Regions from separate parts of the Homo sapiens genome. Here regions 2, 3, 4, 5, 6 and 7 are each linked to region 1. Evidence: promoter capture Hi-C in human tissues and cell types (Jung and others, 2019). All regions are on one chromosome and are shown on one strand. Each heading gives the region's core, a stretch centred on a gene start or on the middle of the fragment in contact. The rest is flanking DNA. Distances are from core to core; before and after follow the strand shown.

Region 1 (2,700 bases), core at 140-2,639:
TTATAGCAGGAAGGGAGATGCACACAGAGAAGTGGGAATCTCAGGAGACGGATGTGGCCAGGGGCTTTTTACGGGGGTTGGGCTAAGCATTATTAGTCAACGGGCTGTACTGCTATTTATGGTAGGTTTTGAATACCGTTTCTCCAAAATAACCTATTTCCTCCCCAAACCCAAACTTCCTCAACTGGGATCGAACTCAATCCTACAGCGTGTTCTGAGATTCTATACTCGCCTCACTTCTCCCAAGATCGTAAATTCTGGAGGAGCCATTCCTTCATCATCCATGTTTGCATCCTTCACACCGTTCACTGGTTAAGTGCTTAGTACGTTTGCTATTGGGCAAGGTCCTCAAACGGGAGGTGGACGTCAGAATAGTCAGGTTATCGACTGAGTAACTGTTAGTGGTGGATAATTTAAAGCCAATTTGAAAGTTCATCCTTTCCCCCAAAGGCAAAAACAGGCGTTCCTTTTCTTAAAAGAGAATTTTAAATAGAATTGGGTCTCTGGTGTCCTGCCTAAAGCCCGCAAAGAAAGAGGGTACGGTTGGGGGTGGGGGTGATGGGGGATACTGAACCCTTTTCTGGTTGCGCCTTGCCCGGAGCCCCCGGCTAGAGCCCTGGCGCTCCTGGCGCGCTCCCAACGCGAATCGGTGACTCCGCAGGCCGCGCAGTGCGGAGGTGCCCGTCCCACCCTCCCCCTTGTGGGGTGCGGGGCTCCATTTCCCCAAGCCGCTGGGGTCGGCTTCTGGTCTTGAGATGCGGATGAAGTGGTGTGAAGGGTTGGGCTTTTTTTTTTGTTCCTAAAAATGCAACGAACAAAAAAAAAAGTACAACAATCCAAACCCAACCATCTTAATTGCACGGCAGCTTAACTGGGAGACTTTCTTCCCGGGCGGCCCCACCCGGGACCGCGCCGCTTCAGTCGAGCCCACCGTCTGGGCAAACGGCGTCCACTTCCCGGAGCCGCTGCCCAGCCTCTGCGGGGGGGCTTTGGGCGGGCGCAGGACTCTGGAAGGGAGAAAAGCCCGCAGCCCGGCCCTCCCCGTCCCAGGCGGCCCGCGCGGGTGGACGGCGGGAGCAGGCGGCGGTTGGAGACGCCGGAAGGAACGCGGTCTCACCACCCGGCTCCCTCCGCCAAGGCGAGGCGCGGCCGGGGAGGCGGGACACAGGCGAAGCGGGACGGGGAGGCGGGGCCGGAGGTGCAGGCGGAGGCGGGCGACGGGGAAGGGAGGGGGAGGGGGAGGGGAAAGGGAGGGGGAGGGGGAGGGGAAAGGGAGGGGGAGGGGGGAAGGGACGGGAGGGGAGGGGGAAGGGACGGGAGGGGAGGGGGAAGGGACGGGAGGGGAAGGGGAAGCGGGAGAGGGAAGGGGGCGGAGCTAGCCGGAGCCGCGAGTCCATTTTGGGGCTGTGCTTGGCGCGTACCGTGCGGTCCCTGTAGTTGGAGGACGGGCGGTCGCGCGGCCTTTCCCACTAGCCGGAGGTCGGAGATAAGTACCCGCCGCCCGGCTCCTCTCGGGAAAGCGGGGTGGTCCTCGAACCTTCAGCGAGGGTGGGGAGTTGCCCAGGTCAGCAGGGATCTGCGTGGGTTGGGGGGGCTGGCGAAGGCCGTCTGAGCTCCAGTCCGGCAGCGCGGCAGAAACCAGCGGGGCACTGTCATGGGCCTGGGGAGGAGCGGCCTGCGGAGGGCGCCGGGGCAGTGTGTCTGTGGTCCAGAAAACCTGCTCCGTCCGGAGCCTTCCTGGCCCCGCTACCAGCGTCTCCACATCCCCTAGAAAAGAAAAGACGGGTGTGGGCCTTAGGTTACAGCGCGCCGCCAGCGTTTGGTTGCATGGCGCCGGGGGAGGGCGCCCTAACCGAGAAGCTGCTTAATACAAAGAGCTCCAGGCTCCTGGCGGTTCACCAGGTCTAAACAGCCGGGCTTTATTTGTGGGGGCGATTGAAAAAATTGAGGGTCAAGATTGGGGTGCTGTGCAAATAAATGCGTTAATACTGTTCTTTTTCTTCTTTCTTTGCAGTAGCCTCTAGTTCGTTAGTCAAAACGTGAAAAAAAAGACCTGCTTTGCCCTGGGAAATAGTAACCCTGCCAAATACATCAGCTTGTAGGAGACAGAGGTAAACTACAATAATTTTCCTGTGTTATCTTTTTTTTTTAAACACCCAATTTCAATAGGCCCTAGAACCTTCCAAAATGGAACTGTGTGTAGAATACGTATGTTCCCATCCACTTTCATTGGTGGTCTTTGTTCTTTGCATATTTTGTTAAAACTTAGAAAAACAGAATTCACGTTTAGCAATTATTTATGTGGTATTTATCTTAAATATAGCCAAACATTCATATTACAAAGGAAGAAAGGGGCTTCCACACTTTTTTCCTACTTTTTTTTCCCTTCTCCTATGCTTAGTGAATTGTCAGGCTGCTAGGGCTTGTAGAACAGGGCTTGAGTTTTCTAGAGACCTTTATATAATAGGCACTTTAAAAGCAGAATTTCATTTACATAGGCACTCCTTCTAGTAGAACTTGATGGAGCTGTTAACCGGCTATACTTCCTTCTTGCACAATGGGAGCGTCCCTATCCCTCCCTAAAAATACGTTTTTTTTCCTTTCTCCCAGCTGGCTTACTAAACCTCCCTGGGAAGTCCTTTCCTAAAACCGGGCTGTTCTGTTCATTCTATACATTTATGATAGGTTATCTGGCCTTAA
Region 2 (2,700 bases), core at 177-2,676, 1.1 Mb after region 1:
CAGGGTTCCTTGATTTTTTTTAGATTGTAGAGTTCTTAGAGATTCTGATGAAAACTATGAACCCTCTCCCCAGAAAATACATATAGTCACATGTACACGACATTTTAATAGATGACTTCGGAGGGTTCTCAGACCTTCTCAAGCCTATCCATGAACCTTTGGTTAAGAACCCATGACATAGAGAGAAGCCATGTAATCCCACCCACCTCTCTCCTAAATGGGTTGGTTGGGCTTGGTAGTCATCCATCCACCTCTCATTCATTTATTCATCTTCCATTCATACACACATGAATCATCCAATCATTCATTCCGTTTTCATGTATTTATTTATACAATGGAGAATATACGTCAGTCCTGATGGCTCTACCCATTACCTCTTCTTAGAGACCCCACCCTCCAAAGTCCATCTGAATGGGATACATATGGACTCCAGACCAAAGACCATCAAACCCTCTTTCTCAGGCATCTGCAATTGAGGCACTGAGAAACTGAGCCAGTCTGATGATGGTGATCTCTTGAATCCAAAGGGCATATAGAAAAGCTTGGAAGAAACAGAAATTAAGTCCAATCATGGTGGCATATACCTGTAATCCCAGCACTTTGAGAGGCTGAGGCAAGAGGATCACTTAAAGTCAGGAGTTTGAGACCAGCCTGGGCAACAAAGCAAAAGCCTGTCTCACCAAAAAATAAAATAAGATAACCAGGCACAGTGCCATGTGCCTCTTATCCTAGCTACTCAGGAGGCTGAGGCAGGAGGATCACTTGAGCCCAGGATTTGAGGCTGCACTGACCTATGAACATGCCACTGCACTCCAGCCTGGGTGACAGAAAAAAAAAAAAGGAACAGAAATCAAAAGACTTTCAGAGAGAAGAGATAACCAGGAAAATAGAGTAAACGTGAAGGGAGATGCAGAGTTGGAAACAGACCTGCTGACTTTCTGTTTCCTCTGAGATTTATCTGTACTTCCTGCAATTGAGTTCTGTTAGAGTCTTCTGAATCTTTATAGTAACTCCTTTAAACATTAGCTTACATAGTGGATTGCTGATCCTTGGAAGTAAAATCCTGGACTAAGTTCTGCAAACAAAGTGCCAAGGGGATGTTAGCCACCTCACCTATGCTCACAAGTGGATGAGGTGAGCACCATGATTATCTCCATTCACAAGTGACCACACCAAAGCTCAGAAACTTCAGTAACCCATTGTCATTAGAAGAAAAGTTCAGCTCCTTCTCATCTTCTACACATTTATATGTCCTGATCCCTAAAACCCTCTCCACCTTCATCTCCTATCAGACTCCTCACATATGATATTCCAAGCATGTTAGATTTTTTTCTTCACTGAGTTCAGTCTGACCTCAGGACCTTTGCACTTGCCATTTTCTCTGGAACACATATAACTTCTCTGTCTTGAGGCTGACTCCTTCCTTCCTTTCAGTTCAAACATTACCTTTGCCAAGAGGTTTTCTCTAACCAGCTCAGGGCAACTGGCATCTTCTCTGCCCAGTCACCACTAAATACTCTAAATTTAGCTCTTTGCACAACCTGAGATTTATTTGTTTATTTGCCTGTTTACTGTCCTCCCCATTGGAATACATTCCCAGGGAACACAGCACTTGCCTATTCCTTTTGCCTCTATTCCCAGTGCCTGAAACTTTGTTCAGCACATTCTAGAAGCTAAATACTTGTTGAATAAATACATTTGCCCAAGTCAAACAGCAAGTAAGTGATCCAGGCAAAATGTAAAGGTTTATCTGATTCCAAAGGCCTTACTCTTCCTAATCCATTAGTTCCTTCTCATTGTTAAATTTCAATAAAGGTTTTAACCAAAAGATTATAAACAAGCAATTTAGGCCAGGCACGGTGGTTCACACCTGTAATCCCAGCACTTTGGGAGGCTGAGGCAGGAGGATCTCTTGAGGCCAGGAGTTCACAAACAGACTGGGCAACATAGAGAGATTTTGTCTCTAAAAAAAAAAATTTTTTTTTTAAATTAGCTGGACATGGTGGTGCATTCCTGTAGTCCCAGCTACTCTGGTGGCTGAGGTGGAAGGATCACTTAAGCTCAAGGGTTTGAGACTGCAGTGAGCTATGATCGTACCACTGTACTCCAGCCTGAGTGACAGAGTGAGACCCTGTCTCTTAAAAAAAAAAAAAAAAAGAGTGATTTATAATTAGAAATCTACAAATCTAGACTATAAGAGAGGAAAATACTGCAAGCAAAGGAGGAGAAACATCTGTTTCCTATTTCATGTTAAGATAAAATTTATGTCATAAGGTCTGGAAACATGCTTCATTTTACCTAATCATTTCTTCTTAAAATTTCTGTAGGAATTGATGGGTTTTTTCTTTCTCAGCTGAAATTCTACTCTAAAAGCATTAGGGAATTTGTTATTTAAATGTGGCCTAAGCAAATCCTTTTGCACAGCCAATAATCTCACCTTAATTTCTCCTTTAAAAGCTGAGTTTTCTGCACTAGTTTTTTTTTCTTTTTTCTTTTTAGTAAATTCTAATATGATGCAATTTTCATAGCTGGTGGACTTCTTAGATTGGCTTTATTTTTGGCTTAAAGATGCATTTCCAATGCAATCGTATAGATGTCTAGTGCTCTGTATACAAACATCCTGAGACCCAGTTAAGCAGATAATTGAAACTTCAAGATGAAAGAGATAAAACCTAATGACACAAGCGCAGGATGTACCCT
Region 3 (2,700 bases), core at 7-2,506, 1.2 Mb after region 1:
GACACTCAATACCAAATAAAAAAACATGACAGAGAGAGAGAGAGAGACAGAGATAGAGACTGTGAGAGAGAAAGCTTTTCTCCTACTTTAAAAAAAATTGTAGTAAAAATTATGTAACATAAAATTACTCTCTTAACCATTTTAAGTGTACTGCTCAGTTGTGTTAAATACATTCACGTTGTTATCAACCCATTTTCTTGCTTTCTGTTTTTTTTCTTTTTTTTTTTTTTTTTTTTTTTTTTGGAGACAGGATCTCGCTTTGTCGCCCAGGCTGGAATGCAGTGATGCAATCTCTCAGCTCACTGCAACCTCCGTCTCCTGAGCTCAAGTGATTCTCCCACCTCAGCCTCCCAAATAGCTGGGACTACAGGTGCATTCCTAGCTAAGTTTTGTATGTTTAGTAGAGAAAGGATTTCGCCATGTTGTCCAGGCGGGTCTCAGACTCCTGGGCTCAAGCAATCTACCGCCTCGGCCTCCCAGAGTGCTGAGATTACAGGATTGAGCCACCATGCCTGACCCAACCCATCTTCAAAACTGTTTTCTTCTTGCAAAACTAAAATGTGATACCCATTACTCCCCATTTTCCCCTACCCCCAGCCCCTGACAACCACCATTCTACTTCCTATCTCTATGAATTTGACAACTCCGGTACGTCACACAAGTGAATCATACAGCTTTTGTGTTTTTGTGACTGGCTTATTTCACTCAGCATAATGTCCTTGGGGTTCTTCGTGAGTAGCATGTGTCAGAATTTCCTTCCTTTTTTAAGCTGAATAATATTCCATTGTGTGTCTATGTCACATTTTGTTTATCCATTCATCTGTAGATGGACATTTAAGTTCCACCTTTTGGCTATTGTAAGTAATGCTGCCATGAACACGGTATGCAACTATCTCTTTGAGTCCCTGCTTTCGATTCTGTTGGGTATGTTTGGAAGTGGAATTGCTGAGTCATAGGGACTCCTGCTTTTTGAACACACATTTTCATTTTGAACTGGGCTGTTTAAATTATACAATTATACAGCTGGCTCTGCACATGCCCAGTTAGGGTGCGTATGAATCACAGTGTCGGAGGACTGTTCTGCTTCAGCCAATGGAACTAAGGACTAAAGACTTTCCATGTTTGACCTGATAGTGTCACCACCAGAGTGGAGCAAGCGAGAAAAGTAAGAGACTGAGCAAGAGTGCTCACCCTCAAGTGTCCCCACCAGTCAGAAGCAGCATGTATTGACATTCATGGCTGTAGAACATTCTGGAACTGGTTTTCATTTATCAATGCATGCATTATTTCTTCCAATGCATATGTATTAAACCTCAGCTACGTGCCAGACCTCGTTGAAGACACTGAGGATAAAGCAGTAAACAATGCATGGAAGGGTCTTCCATGCAAGTCAGACAAGTAAACTAATTGCACATTCGACGGTTTCTTGTGAAAAGTTCTATAAAGGGGAAATGTTGGGCCCTGAGCCCAAGGGTAGAAAGCAGGCTGTGCATGAGTCACTGTCCTGCTTTTAAGGGGCCGGTAAGGTAGGACAGGAGTTTCCAAAGTGGTACGTGAGATGATCTTAGGTAGAACGTTTTATCTTTTCTTTTTAATAGGTACATATTCAGTTTAACGTATGTTTAGAAATATATATCTAATACCTCAAACCCTCAATTCTTAACTATCTCCTGGATGATGCTCAATTTAAAAAGGAGTTCATGTAAAATGAATAAATATAAGCTAAATATTAAAGCCTATTATGTTGTTATTAAAATAAATAAATAATGCAGGAGCTACATGAATAAGACCTAAACATTTAAAGATTGCAACTCAAAAAAACTACATTTTGGAAACTCCTTGTGGGTTTTAAAGATAACTTTTTTAATACAGACATATTTTTAAGAAGAGTATAACTAGGGCTAAGATACAAGTAAGTCCATGGGGAAAGGGAAGCAGCTGTGTTTGAGAGGAGCTCCTAACCCAATTTAGGGGATTCAAGAAAGGCTTCCAAGAAAATTGCTTCATGCAATGAATTTTGTTCCTTGAATTACTCAGTCCAGGTGTATTTGTGTGAACTCTTCAAGTATGAGCGCTGGAAACCCACTACAGCCAGTTTAAGCAGGAGGGGTAATTTGCAGATGAGGATGCTGGGTGATCCCACAGTGGCTCAGGCCTCAGAGTGACCCACCTCTCTCAATCTCTGCTCCTGGTCCCCACTCTTATCTGAGGCTCTGCTTTACCTCTCACACTCGCTGCACACTTCCTTTCTCAGTATATTTCCAAGTGGACAAGATGGAAAACGGCTACCGCATTCTTCTATTTATATCTCTTCCATTCAAAGACAATCTCAACTGATGTTACCATTTCTTACTTCCAAGTCTTGACTTCTGGGGAAGAGACTCTGGTCAGGCATCACAGGTGACCTCAGAGGCGGGGTCTTGTTCACACAAGGACAACTGTCACCACGTGGTCAGGGAGGGGAAAATTACCAGAATCCAGATGGGAATGGGGTTGGAGATCCAGGCAGAAAACCTGATGGCACAAGCTGGAAAAGTCCTCATTTCAACAGCTTCCAGACTCCCCTGTGCCTGACATCAGTGTAGGTAGGAACTGCCAACAAGCCTGGAACAACATTTTCTCTTAGGCCACCTTGAGGATACGGGTGGCAGGAGAGATCTGGAGTGACAGGGGACCTTGACCCCACCCCCGGCCTGTAAC
Region 4 (2,700 bases), core at 8-2,507, 1.1 Mb after region 1:
ATGTATGCTCATAATTGAACAGGGTTTTATGGAAAAAGAATGGGAGTTTATGAAACAAGAACTGTAGACTAGGAAGAAAAAAACTTAGAAAAAAGTATCATCACTGAAATTTAAATACATAGGCACACATAGCCACATACAAATTTTCAATAGATGAGCTAAATAGTCAACTTGCCAGGGCTGAAGAAAAAAATCAGTGAAATAGACAACTGAGCTGAGAAAATTATCACAAAGAGATAAAAATAAGAAGTTTGTCAGAAACTCTAGTATAACTAAACCATGGTATTATCTATTATAACTAAATATTAAAATAGTTTTGGGAGAACAGCTGCATATCTTTTGTTTCTGGTAACAGGTTGTAGACTCACTGGATCCAACTAACAGTTTTAGGCTTACTTTTTCCCCAGCTTTATAATGTTTGTTTTTGTTTGTTTAGAGGCAGAATATCTCTCTGTCACTCAGGCTGGAGTGCAGTGCCGTGACCATCGTTCACAGTGGCCTCGAACTCCTGGCCTCAAGCAATCCTCCTACCTCAGTTTTCCAAAGTGCTGGGATTATAGGGATGAGCCACCTCACCTGGCCCAGCTTTATAATCTTAAAGCCATTACTTATTTTGTTAGCCCCTTGTAACTCCTGGCCTTATATGTCATGTAAATGATCATTTGGCTTTAACAAAACACTAAGTTAATAAAATGTTGCTCATATATATCAAACTGTTAGAAGCCTAACTGATAGAACTGAATTAACAGACTTAAAGCATAGTGTAAAATCTTCACATACAGTAAGTGAAATGTCACAATCCACTAAGAGAAGGAATGTACACTTTTATATACATGCCAGTTGTCAATAAATAGTGTTGGAAAACTTTGCTATTCGGGAAAATTCAAGTTGTGTTCTCAGTTCCTACTACATATCCAAATAAATTGCTGATAGACAAAGGGATTGGTTTTTTTTAAAAAAAAAGAAAAACGGAACTATTAAAAAAAGGATAATATGGCAAATATGCAATTGACCTTGGAACATGGAAGGACTTTCTAAGCATGAAAGCAACGGAAGAAATTACAGACAAAAATTGAAGACACAAAAATAAGTAGTATCTGCACATCAGAAAACGTCAAATAAATGAAAAGAGGTATAATAACTTGGAGAAAATATTTTAACATATATGGAAGACAATGCGCTAATATCCTCAAAAATCCCTGTAAGTAACAAAATATAAGAAGAAGTGTCCCTATAAATAAATAACAAAACTTTAATACAGCCAAAAGAAAATGTATGAAGACATGAATGAACAATCCACTAAATAAGAAGTATGCATTTTTATGACGATAAAAAAGGTCATTCTTCAATGACCCTTTGCAAAGGTCATTATGCAAGCAATAATAAAAGTACCTTAAGATACTGCAATTTATCTATCAAATTGGCAAACTTTTAAAATTAATGACAGTACTTGATGCTGATAAAATGCAAATAGAAGAGCTTATTAGAAACCCACTGTCGATGAAAAGCATAAATTGGTAAAATGTTTCTGGAAAGTAATACGTAAAAGAATCCCTAAAAAATAATGACCTTTGGCCTTCAACCCATTAATCACACTTTAGGAATCTCTGCTAAAAAATGCCTTACAGACATAGAGTAAAATGTGTTTATTTATAACGTTTAGCAATTGTTTGTAGAAGGTGAGTTGTTAAATTTGCCTTTTAAGCTTTTGTTTTCAAAAAGTAGTTAATGAGATGGAAAAGAACTCACAATATATAACATTAACTGAGAAAAGAATACAAAGATGTATATATGGTATGAACCAAATTTAGTACATTTATACATATATGGACATGAGGTTTGCCAGGTTTAACAAATTAAAATAAAGCATGGCAGTTGAAGACTAATTTCAGATAAACAATGAATAATTTTTCATATAAATACATGCCAAATATTACATGGGACATCCTTATACTAAAAAATTCTAATTTTTGCTAGGCATTCTTCATTTTATCTTACAACCCCAATGCACATATGTGCAAATACACAGGAAAATATGACTAAAAGAAAATATACCTAAAAATTATACAGTGAGTACCTCTATCTAGATGGTAGGATTCTAAGATATTTTTATTTTCTTCCCTATACTTTTCTGTGTGTTATGAATTTCATCTTATAAGCAAATATAACTTTATTATCAGAAAAAAATGTATAGCGTGTGTTTTTGATGGTGGGCTCTAATCAATTACATAATGGCTATTTTAATTATTAGGATATGATTCCACATGAATATACGCAAACCATATTCTATTCCACTAAAAAAAAGAAAAGGCATCAAAACCACACACCTATGACTTTTCCAGATCTTCCATCAAAGTTTATAACAGTTTTCTTCTTAAATTACAATTGGAGTTTCTCAGGTAATTGGTTTACTGAGCATCTACCATGTGCCTAAAACCGTGCTAAAGGTCGGAGTTAAAAAGATAAATAAGATATAATGCCTCTGCTCAATGAGCTCACAGTTAGTGGCATAGATAAGCAAAAGAACAGACAATTACAGTGTGCTGAGTGCTAAAACAAGGCTCAGACGCAGGGAGGAGGGAAATCCACTGTGTGGAATTGTGGATGTGAGAAAAGGCTTCCCAGGAAGTGCTGTCTCTGCTGTCTCAAAGGACAAGAAGTTAGCCAGGTGAACAAGGTGGTGTGGGGGAGAGAAAAAAG
Region 5 (2,700 bases), core at 36-2,535, 1.1 Mb after region 1:
CATTTCAACTTTGGTGAATCTGACAATTATGTGTCTTGGAGTTGCTCTTCTCGAGGAGTATCTTTGTGGTGTTCTCTGTATTTCCTGAATCTGAACGTTGGCCTGCCTTGCTAGATTGGGGAAGTTCTCCTGGACAATATCCTGCAGAGTGTTTTCCAACTTGGTTCCATTCTCCCTGTCACTTTCAGGTACACCAATCAGACGTAGATTTGGTCTTTTCACATAGTCCCATATTTCTTGGAGGCTTTGCTCATTTCTTTTTATTCTTTTTTCTCTAAACTTCTCTTCTCACTTCATTTCATTCACTTCATCTTCCATCGCTGATACCCTTTCTTCCAGTTGATCGCATCGGCTCCTGAGGCTTCTGCATTCTTCACATAGTTCTCGAGCCTTGGTTTTCAGCTCCATCAGCTCCTTTAAGCACTTCTCTGTATTGGTTATTCTAGTTATACATTCTTCTAAAATTTTTTCAAAGTTTTCAACTTCTTTGCCTTTGGTTTGAATGTCCTCCTGTAGCTCAGAGTAATTTGATCGTCTGAAGCCTTCTTCTCTCAGCTCGTCAAAGTCGTTCTCCATCCAGCTTTGTTCCGTTGCTGGTGAGGAACTGCGTTCCTTTGGAGGAGGAGAGGCGCTCTGCTTTTTAGAGTTTCCAGTTTTTCTGTTCTGTTTTTTCCCCATCTTTGTGGTTTTATCTACTTTTGGTCTTTGATGATGGTGATATACAGATGGTTTTTTGGTGTGGATGTCCTTTCTGTTTGTTAGTTTTCCTTTAACAGACAGGACCCTCAGCTGCAGGTCTGTTGGAGTACCCTGCCCTGTGAGGTGTCAGTGTGCCCCTGCTGGGGGGGTGCCTCCCAGTTAGGCTGCTCGGGGGTCAGGGGTCAGGGACCCACTCGAGGAGGCAGTCTGCCCGTTCTCAGATCTCCAGCTGAGTACTGGGAGAACCACTGCTCTCTTCAAAGCTGTCAGACAGGGACATTTAAGTCTGCAGAGGTTACTGCTGCCTTTTTGTTTGTCTGTGCCCTGCCCCCAGAGGTGGAGCCTACAGAGGCAGGCAGGCCTCCTTGAGCTGTGGTGGGCTCCACCCAGTTGGAGCTTCCCGGCTGCTTTGTTTACCTAAGCAAGCCTGGGCAATGGCGGGCGCCCCTCCCCCAGCCTCGCTGCCGCCTTGCAGTTTGATCTCAGACTGCTGTGCTAGCAATCAGCGAGACTCCGTGGGCGTAGCACCCTCCGAGCCAGGTGCAGGATATAATCTGGTGGTGCACCGTTTTTTAAGCCCGTCGGAAAAGCACAGTATTCGGGTGGGAGTGACCCGATTTTCCAGGTGCCGTCCGTCACCCCTTTCTTTGACTCGGAAAGGGAACTCCCTGACCCCTTGTGCTTCCCGAGTGAGGCAATGCCTCGCCCTGCTTCGGCTCGCACACGGTGCACACACCCACTGACCTGCGCCCACTGTCTGGCACTCCCTAGTGAGATGAACCCGGTACCTCAGATGGAAATGCAGAAATCACCCGTCTTCTGCGTCGCTCACGCTGGGAGCTGTAGACCGGAGCTGTTCCTATTCGGCCATCTTGGCTCCTCCCAATATTGGGCTTTTATAATGAAGCTTAAAAGGGAATTGGGCTGGGTCTGTTAGGACTAGAACATCTTGTGATGCTGTATGGTTGGCTAGATAATGGCTTCCCAAAGATGTTTCCATCCTAATCCCCAGAACCTGTGAATGTCATTTTATATGGCAAAAGATATTTTGCAGATTTGATTAAATTAAGGATTTGGAGATGGAGAGATTGCTCAGGTGAGAGTGATGTAATCACAAAGATCCTTATAAATGGGCCGGGCACGTAGGCTCACACCTGTAATCCCAGCACTTTGGGAGGCCAAGGTGGGCAGATCACCTGAGGTCAGGAGTTCGAGACCAGCCTGACCAACATGGGGAAACCCCGTCTCTACTAAAAATACAAAATTAGCCAGGCATGGTGGCACATGCCTGTAATCCCAGCTACTCAGGAGGCTGAGGCAAGAGAATCACTTGAACCCAGGAGGCAGAGGCTGCGGTGAGCCAAGATCGTGCCCATTGCACTCCAGCCTGGGCAACAAGAGCAAAACTCTGTCTCAAAAAAAAAAAAAAAAATCCTTATAAATGGGAAGCAGGAGCACAGACTGAGCAGGTGGAGACATGATGATGGAATCAATAGGTTGGAGTGATGCAAGGATGGGGTCACCAGCCAAGGAATGCAGGAAGCCCCTGAAAGCTGAAAAAAGCAAGGAAATGGATTCTCCTCTAAAGCTTCCAGAAGGAACACAGCCCTGCCAACATCTTGACCTAACCTGGTGAAACTGATTTTGGTTCTTCTGACTTCCAGACTGTAAAAGCATAAATATATATTGTTTTAAGCCTTTAAGTCTGTGGTAATTTATTACAGCAGCAACAGGAAACTCATTCTCTCTGCAAAGGCGAACAGTGGTGAGAGGAACACAGTGTCCTGTTAGAGACACTTTGGGCTCTGTGTCTGAGAATGGGCACCAGGAAGGTCGGTCTTGGCAGCAATGCTCTCAGTTGCATGGCACATGGCTGGGTACACACGATTCAAATCAAACTAGCAGCTCCATGCATCTTGCCCCATGAAGCAGAAGACAGTCTGTAGCGGGAGCTAGAAACCAGGTGCTAAAAAACAAGCCAGATGCCACGGATGCACATCC
Region 6 (2,700 bases), core at 107-2,606, 1.1 Mb after region 1:
TAGGAGATTGACACAAGATACAGGTCATAAAGACCTTGCTGATAAAACAGCTTGCAGTAAAGAAGCAGGCTAAAACCCAAACCAAAACCAAGATGATGATGAGAGTGACCACTGGTCGTCCTCACTGCTACACCCTCACCAGCGCCATGACAGTTTACAAATGCCATGGCAACATCAGGAAGTTATACTATATGGTCTACAAAGGGGAGGCATGAATAATCCACCCCTTGTTTGGCATACAATCAAGAAATAACCATAAAAATGGGCAACCAGCAGCTTTCAGGGCTGCTCTGTCTGTGGAGTAGCCATTCCTTTATTCCTCTACTTTCTTAATAAACTTACTTTCACTTTACTATACGGACTCACCGTGAATTCTTTCTTGCACAAGATCCAAGAACCCTCTCTTGAGATCTGGATTGGTACCCCTTTCCAGTAACACCTAGAGTAGTCAGATTCATAGAGAAGGGAAATAGAATGTGGTTACCAAGAGCTGGGAGAGGGGAGGACGGGGAGTTGCTATTTAATAGGCACAGAGTTTCTGTTTGAGGGAATGGGGAAGTTCTAGAGGTGGGAAGTGATGTTTGCACAACATTGTGAATGTACTTAATGCCACTCATTTTACACCTAAAGATGGTTAAAATTGTGAATTTTAGTTATGTATATTTTATCACAATTTTAAAAACTATAAAAAATTTTCTCTACTGAACATGTACTATTTTTAATTTTTTTATTTATTAAATATATATTTTTTAATTAAAGTTGGCAATTTCAGAAACACTCTGGGAGCCCTGGGGCTGGGTCAGCCTGGCCTGCAGCACAGCCCCAATGGGCCCCAGGAAAGGTGTGGGTGCCCGGGTGCCTTCCCTTGGTCTGAGCACTGTTCTGTGTGCACTGAGGTCTGATGCACATGGGCCTCCCCAGTGGCTGTCAACCTTTTGCCTCCTGCATCTCGAACTCTGTGCCACCGTGTGTCCAAGAGAAAAATGAGACAGAAGAGGGGGCTCTGTGATACCAGACATCTGGAAACTGACTCCAAAGGGCCTGTGCTGAGCAACATGGAGTTTTACAAACGACAGAAGCTATCTTGAGGACAGGGGACAAAAGCCAGGGAAGCCTTCCTGGGGTCCTCTACACCAGCCCTCAGGAGAGCAGGCATCCGCACACCTGCAGCATCCTGTGCACGCTCACACCATGTTCCTTCCACCCACCATCCACCAACACCACTGCTCCCAGAAACTCCCTTGGGAAGGTGAGCTTGTAGGTAATTTATGGTTTCTTTGCAGAATTTCCTGAAAATCTAAGTCCATTTACCTGCCTTCTCAGGACCAAAAATAGCAGCAATCTAGCCCAAATCCTCACCTCCCTGTGTCCCCTGACCCTAATATGTCCCAAACTTTCCCAATTCTAATCCACCCCCACATCAAAAACTCACTCACTCAGGGTTCAACATATTCAATGACCACCACATTTGCCCTCTTTTCTGAGGCACTCCTCAGTCTCAGAATCCCCTTTACTGGGGTATGTAATGAACTTGGCTTTGCCTTAACACCAAGCTGTTTTGGTGTGGTTTGGGGAGCCACCATCCCATCTGATACTCAACTGCTGTGGACAGATACCTCTCGGCAAAGGGGCCGTTACAGAGTGTAGAGTCAGTGATCTTCCTACAAACTCTAAATCCTTTGGGATTTATGATGGTTAATAGGCAAGAATGAACATATACTCATTTCTCCAACTTAACTGTTTTCCAATTCTTGTTCTTTTATTAAACAAACAAGCAAGGCAGGAAATTCCTCCTGTCTGAGGTTAATTTGATCACCAGCATCAAAAACCTGCTGGGCCCAGCTCCAGCTGAGAGGATATGAGCACATTCTCTACCCCAGAGCAATTTCTGTGACTGCTTAGGGTATTTGCCTCCCTTTTCTTATGAACAGGACCAAATCCACCTAGAAAGAGGGAAGGGGTCTTTTGTGGTGCCACCTTAAGAGGACAAGAAACTCTTTCAGCACATCAGGTTACAAGTCTGATGGCCTCAGAGATTGGTCTGCCTGCAGTAACACCTCCCGGCCTTCCCTCCTGACCTGGATGGAGCCACCAGCCGCAGCGGGGTAAGATTGAGAGTCCAAAGGCCCTAGGCCTTGTGAATGACTGACTCCATGCCAGGTACACATGCAGTCATCAGAGCACTGAAGGCGCTGCCCTCCTCTCCCACCCCTTGCCTGCCCTGGGCAAAGCTCACCCAACCTCTTGAACCCTCGGGAGGCCTCTTGGGAGCCAGTTTTCAGGGCCGGCTCTGGAGCTGCACCTGTGGCTGTCAGAGGAGGGAGGAACCAGACTGCCCACAGCTGCTCAGCCTGGCAGTGGAACTGTGAGAGTACAAGAGGTTCTCAGTGCAGCTGCGGCTACAACTGAGGCTGAGTAGAGCAGCCAGGAGCCTGGAGAGAGACCAGGTGGAGAGAATGAGAGAAGGTGCTAAGATGGATCTGATACTCCCTGGGCAGCCACAGACCTCCGAGCCTTTGCTTAATTCCTCACCCCCTTGGCAGGGCACAGTGGTTCACGCCTATAATCCCAGTGCTTTGGGAGGCCTAGATGGGAGGATCTGGGAGGATTGCTTGAGGCCAGGAGTTTGAGACCAGCCTGGGCAACACAGAGAGATCCCATCTATTTTTTTTAATGTTTTTAATTGACCAGTCATGGTGG
Region 7 (2,700 bases), core at 111-2,610, 1.0 Mb after region 1:
CCTAGTTTTTGGCTGACTAATCCCCTGCACTTGGCCTATGAGGAAGAGTTGGTAGATGGGTACAGACTCTGTGGCTGGGACTCTTTGGCATTCTAACCTGTTGTTTCAGCCCTGTGACCATTAAAAGTCCACTAAAATTTAGACGGGATTATCCCTACCCTCACCTCTGGTGGATTACTTCTTCTGCTGCCCTGCCAGGATTGAATGCAATTATGGGTGTCTTCTCTTTGAAAGGTTTGTCACTTCCTGGAATTTAGTTTATTTTGATTCCTTTGCTTTCTGGTGGGGGAAAAAAAACTGCTAGCATGGGAACAACAGTCTCTTACAGCTTTCTACATCCTAATCAGATTGCTTGTTGTTTTTACTTGCTAGATTTTCTTCTGCTTGAAATAAAATTATAATTTCTCTAGGAAAACAGGATTCTCTGAACCCTTCAAAGCACCTAGTAATACTGTCTCATACATGGATGGATCTCAGTAAATGTATATTAAAGCTATATGAATAAAATAATAGAATATCTCAGTGCAAAATAATTGCACAATTCTGTTAAGAGAGAAAGTGTTTCCAGTTCTCTCCCCTACATCCTTGAATAAACCCATATGATATGCTGTTTCTGGTGGATATTTAATGATGCTCCTAATTATGTCCATAGTCTTACCTTGGAATTGCTAACATCCTTTCCTATTTTTTTCTTGGTAAATCCACCTTGAGAGTTTCCAACAATTCATTGTCTAATTTCATTCTTATTGGTGTAGCATTATTTTCATCTCTGGCGCTATGCCCCTTTCATACACACATGCACACACACACACACGCACACACACACACACGCACACTATGCTTTCCATTTTTATTTTTATTTTTCACCAGTGACTTACACAAGCATCCTTTAACTGAAACATTTATCTCTTATCTAACCTTCTTATATCTCTTCCCTCATTGCCTCTCATCCTGATTTTTTATTTATTACATTGGATTTTTATTCCACTGATGCACACTGTGTTTACAATGAGTCATTATGGCAGCTATCTTGTTCTTGTGACTATCTAAGGCCAGCTTTTACTTAGAAGACTACAGTGGATGCTGTAGCCATGATCTGCACTGTTTCTCAGCTTCTAACTCACCATGGTCAGAGTGAGTGCAGCAGATTTTCAGAATCTCCTGTAAAAAGTTATAATGTGGAAAAATCATATTCCATCTTATAATTGGCTTTGTTTATTTTGAATTGACTAGTTTATTTTAAATTTCTGACTGATATTAGCAGAGGAAGGACCTAGAAATCAAAGGCAGAGAGACGCCACTCTCAGCCATCCCAGGAGCATTAGGATCTGCTGAGCCAGCGGAGGAGGACATTCATTTTTCACCTCCAAAACTGTTCAACTTTTAGAGTGTGAACAAACTTCCAGACTTGGAAGCGTACTTTTCTGTGAGAAAGGCGAGCAGATGTCTCGCTAGTGGCCACTTGGTGGAAGGAAAGCCATTCTGAATATCTTACGGCATCACGGTGCCTGGCCTGCTGACTGCAGGCAGCCTCACACCTCAGCCTGAGTTCTGAACCTGTCAGATGGCATGTTGGAGACACAATTTCCTAAGCAGGAAAAGTTGGCTGCTCATTAAACCTGAACCACTTGTTGAAATGCTTGAACATAAAAGCAGGAATTATAAATGAGCTGGTGTTTAAGATGGATTGAGCCCTGCTAGGTAAATAGGAAGAACTGCTCAGCACTGTCCTGAATTACCAACAAAGGAAGCTTGCAGTCAATCGTAGGAAAACCTTGAGCACCGCAGCCTCCTCTGAAATTTGAGAAAAGTTGAGACTATAGGAGCCTTAGGAATATCTCTATTAGGGACATATGCAAGAGAAGAAAAGGGCTAGGATACATTACCCATTTTAATGACAGCAACTTACCCAGTAATCACCTAAGCACATAAGCAGAATTCTACTTTTGTGTGTGAGATGTTTGGCATTAAGCCAAGTACTCAGTTGCTCTCTACCTGGATGGGTTCTCCAGTAACAGGATTCGTCACTTCCTTTGCAGAAATTCTCATCCCCAAGGCAAAATTAGCCACTCTTTGAGCATGGTTTCCAATAGGCACTGGTACACCTCCTACCACCATATAAGCATCTCCTATTGTTTCTACCTGTCAGGGAAAAAAAAATAGGTATTCAGAGGGATTCCTTCATGCACTAAACATGTCACTACACTTTTTTTCATTTTCCATATATAGACAAAGGGACTATACTAAAGCTGGTAATTGATTCTTTGCTAAGGGTATGAGGAGCATGAGGGAGGAGGTGAGAAAGAAAAGGACTCAGGAAACAACCATGAGAGAGCCAAAAGGCCTTTCTGCTTTTGGTGGAAACAAATCCCAGAAAAGACGAAGCTCCTGGGGTAGTCATGTGATGCTATATATGAGATAACACATTGTTTAGATTCGATTTTCTGCTGAATTTAGGAGTAGGAGAACTACACTCTATGAAAACACCTGACATCTAGGTGCCCCTCAAGGGCACCAGAGTGCCATCTTAGCACTGAGCATTGTAAAAAGAATTTCTAAAAACTAGAATTCCTAAAATACTTCCAATTCCCTTTCAGCTTTTATTCTGACCCCACACTCATCCACACCAAACCCCAGACCAGTGCAGACAGAGGCAAAGGGAGACTTAGAATCAAGCACTCGCCCTGCGTGAGCACACCG

Evidence for each region. The method cuts DNA at HindIII sites, captures the fragments that hold promoters and counts their contacts. A contact is called where the count stands out against the background at its distance.
Region 2: a fragment that was not itself captured here is called in contact with the fragment with the promoter of TRIM13 in region 1 in 3 of the 25 tissues and cell types used here (IMR-90 fibroblasts, dorsolateral prefrontal cortex and lymphoblastoid cells).
Region 3: a fragment that was not itself captured here is called in contact with the fragment with the promoter of TRIM13 in region 1 in 1 of the 25 tissues and cell types used here (dorsolateral prefrontal cortex).
Region 4: a fragment that was not itself captured here is called in contact with the fragment with the promoter of TRIM13 in region 1 in 1 of the 25 tissues and cell types used here (lymphoblastoid cells).
Region 5: a contact is called between a fragment that was not itself captured here and the fragment with the promoter of TRIM13 in region 1, in 2 of the 25 tissues and cell types used here (hippocampus and lymphoblastoid cells).
Region 6: a fragment that was not itself captured here is called in contact with the fragment with the promoter of TRIM13 in region 1 in 1 of the 25 tissues and cell types used here (dorsolateral prefrontal cortex).
Region 7: a contact is called between a fragment that was not itself captured here and the fragment with the promoter of TRIM13 in region 1, in 1 of the 25 tissues and cell types used here (lymphoblastoid cells).

What each region holds. Positions count from the first base shown.
Region 1 is chr13:49,995,653-49,998,352 of GRCh38, forward strand. TRIM13 (tripartite motif containing 13) reads left to right here and starts at 1,390. Exons shown (of 2, transcript NM_213590.3): 1 at 1,390-2,111. It overlaps DLEU2 (deleted in lymphocytic leukemia 2), which reads right to left. Exons shown (of 14, transcript NR_152566.1): 11 at 1,422-1,767. MIR3613 (microRNA 3613) reads right to left here and starts at 849; the gene lies at 763-849. RefSeq lists silencers at 357-406, 997-1,126 and an enhancer at 687-816. The HindIII fragment of the contact is 11,924 bases long and covers 1-2,700 here.
Region 2 is chr13:51,055,848-51,058,547 of GRCh38, forward strand. It overlaps the pseudogene GUCY1B2. Among named protein-coding and RNA genes, the nearest start is that of C13orf42, 54 kb to the right of the region's middle. The HindIII fragment of the contact is 8,118 bases long and covers 1-2,700 here.
Region 3 is chr13:51,153,415-51,156,114 of GRCh38, forward strand. It overlaps a transcript of C13orf42 not described here. Among named protein-coding and RNA genes, the nearest start is that of C13orf42, 43 kb to the left of the region's middle. The HindIII fragment of the contact is 5,773 bases long and covers 1-2,700 here.
Region 4 is chr13:51,099,218-51,101,917 of GRCh38, forward strand. The region is part of intron 1 of C13orf42 (chromosome 13 open reading frame 42); the gene reads right to left. Among named protein-coding and RNA genes, the nearest start is that of C13orf42, 11 kb to the right of the region's middle. The HindIII fragment of the contact is 4,613 bases long and covers 1-2,700 here.
Region 5 is chr13:51,079,264-51,081,963 of GRCh38, forward strand. No RefSeq gene overlaps it. Among named protein-coding and RNA genes, the nearest start is that of C13orf42, 31 kb to the right of the region's middle. The HindIII fragment of the contact is 3,142 bases long and covers 1-2,700 here.
Region 6 is chr13:51,132,821-51,135,520 of GRCh38, forward strand. It overlaps a transcript of C13orf42 not described here. Among named protein-coding and RNA genes, the nearest start is that of C13orf42, 23 kb to the left of the region's middle. The HindIII fragment of the contact is 6,780 bases long and covers 1-2,700 here.
Region 7 is chr13:51,014,186-51,016,885 of GRCh38, forward strand. It overlaps the pseudogene GUCY1B2. Among named protein-coding and RNA genes, the nearest start is that of C13orf42, 96 kb to the right of the region's middle. The HindIII fragment of the contact is 6,465 bases long and covers 1-2,700 here.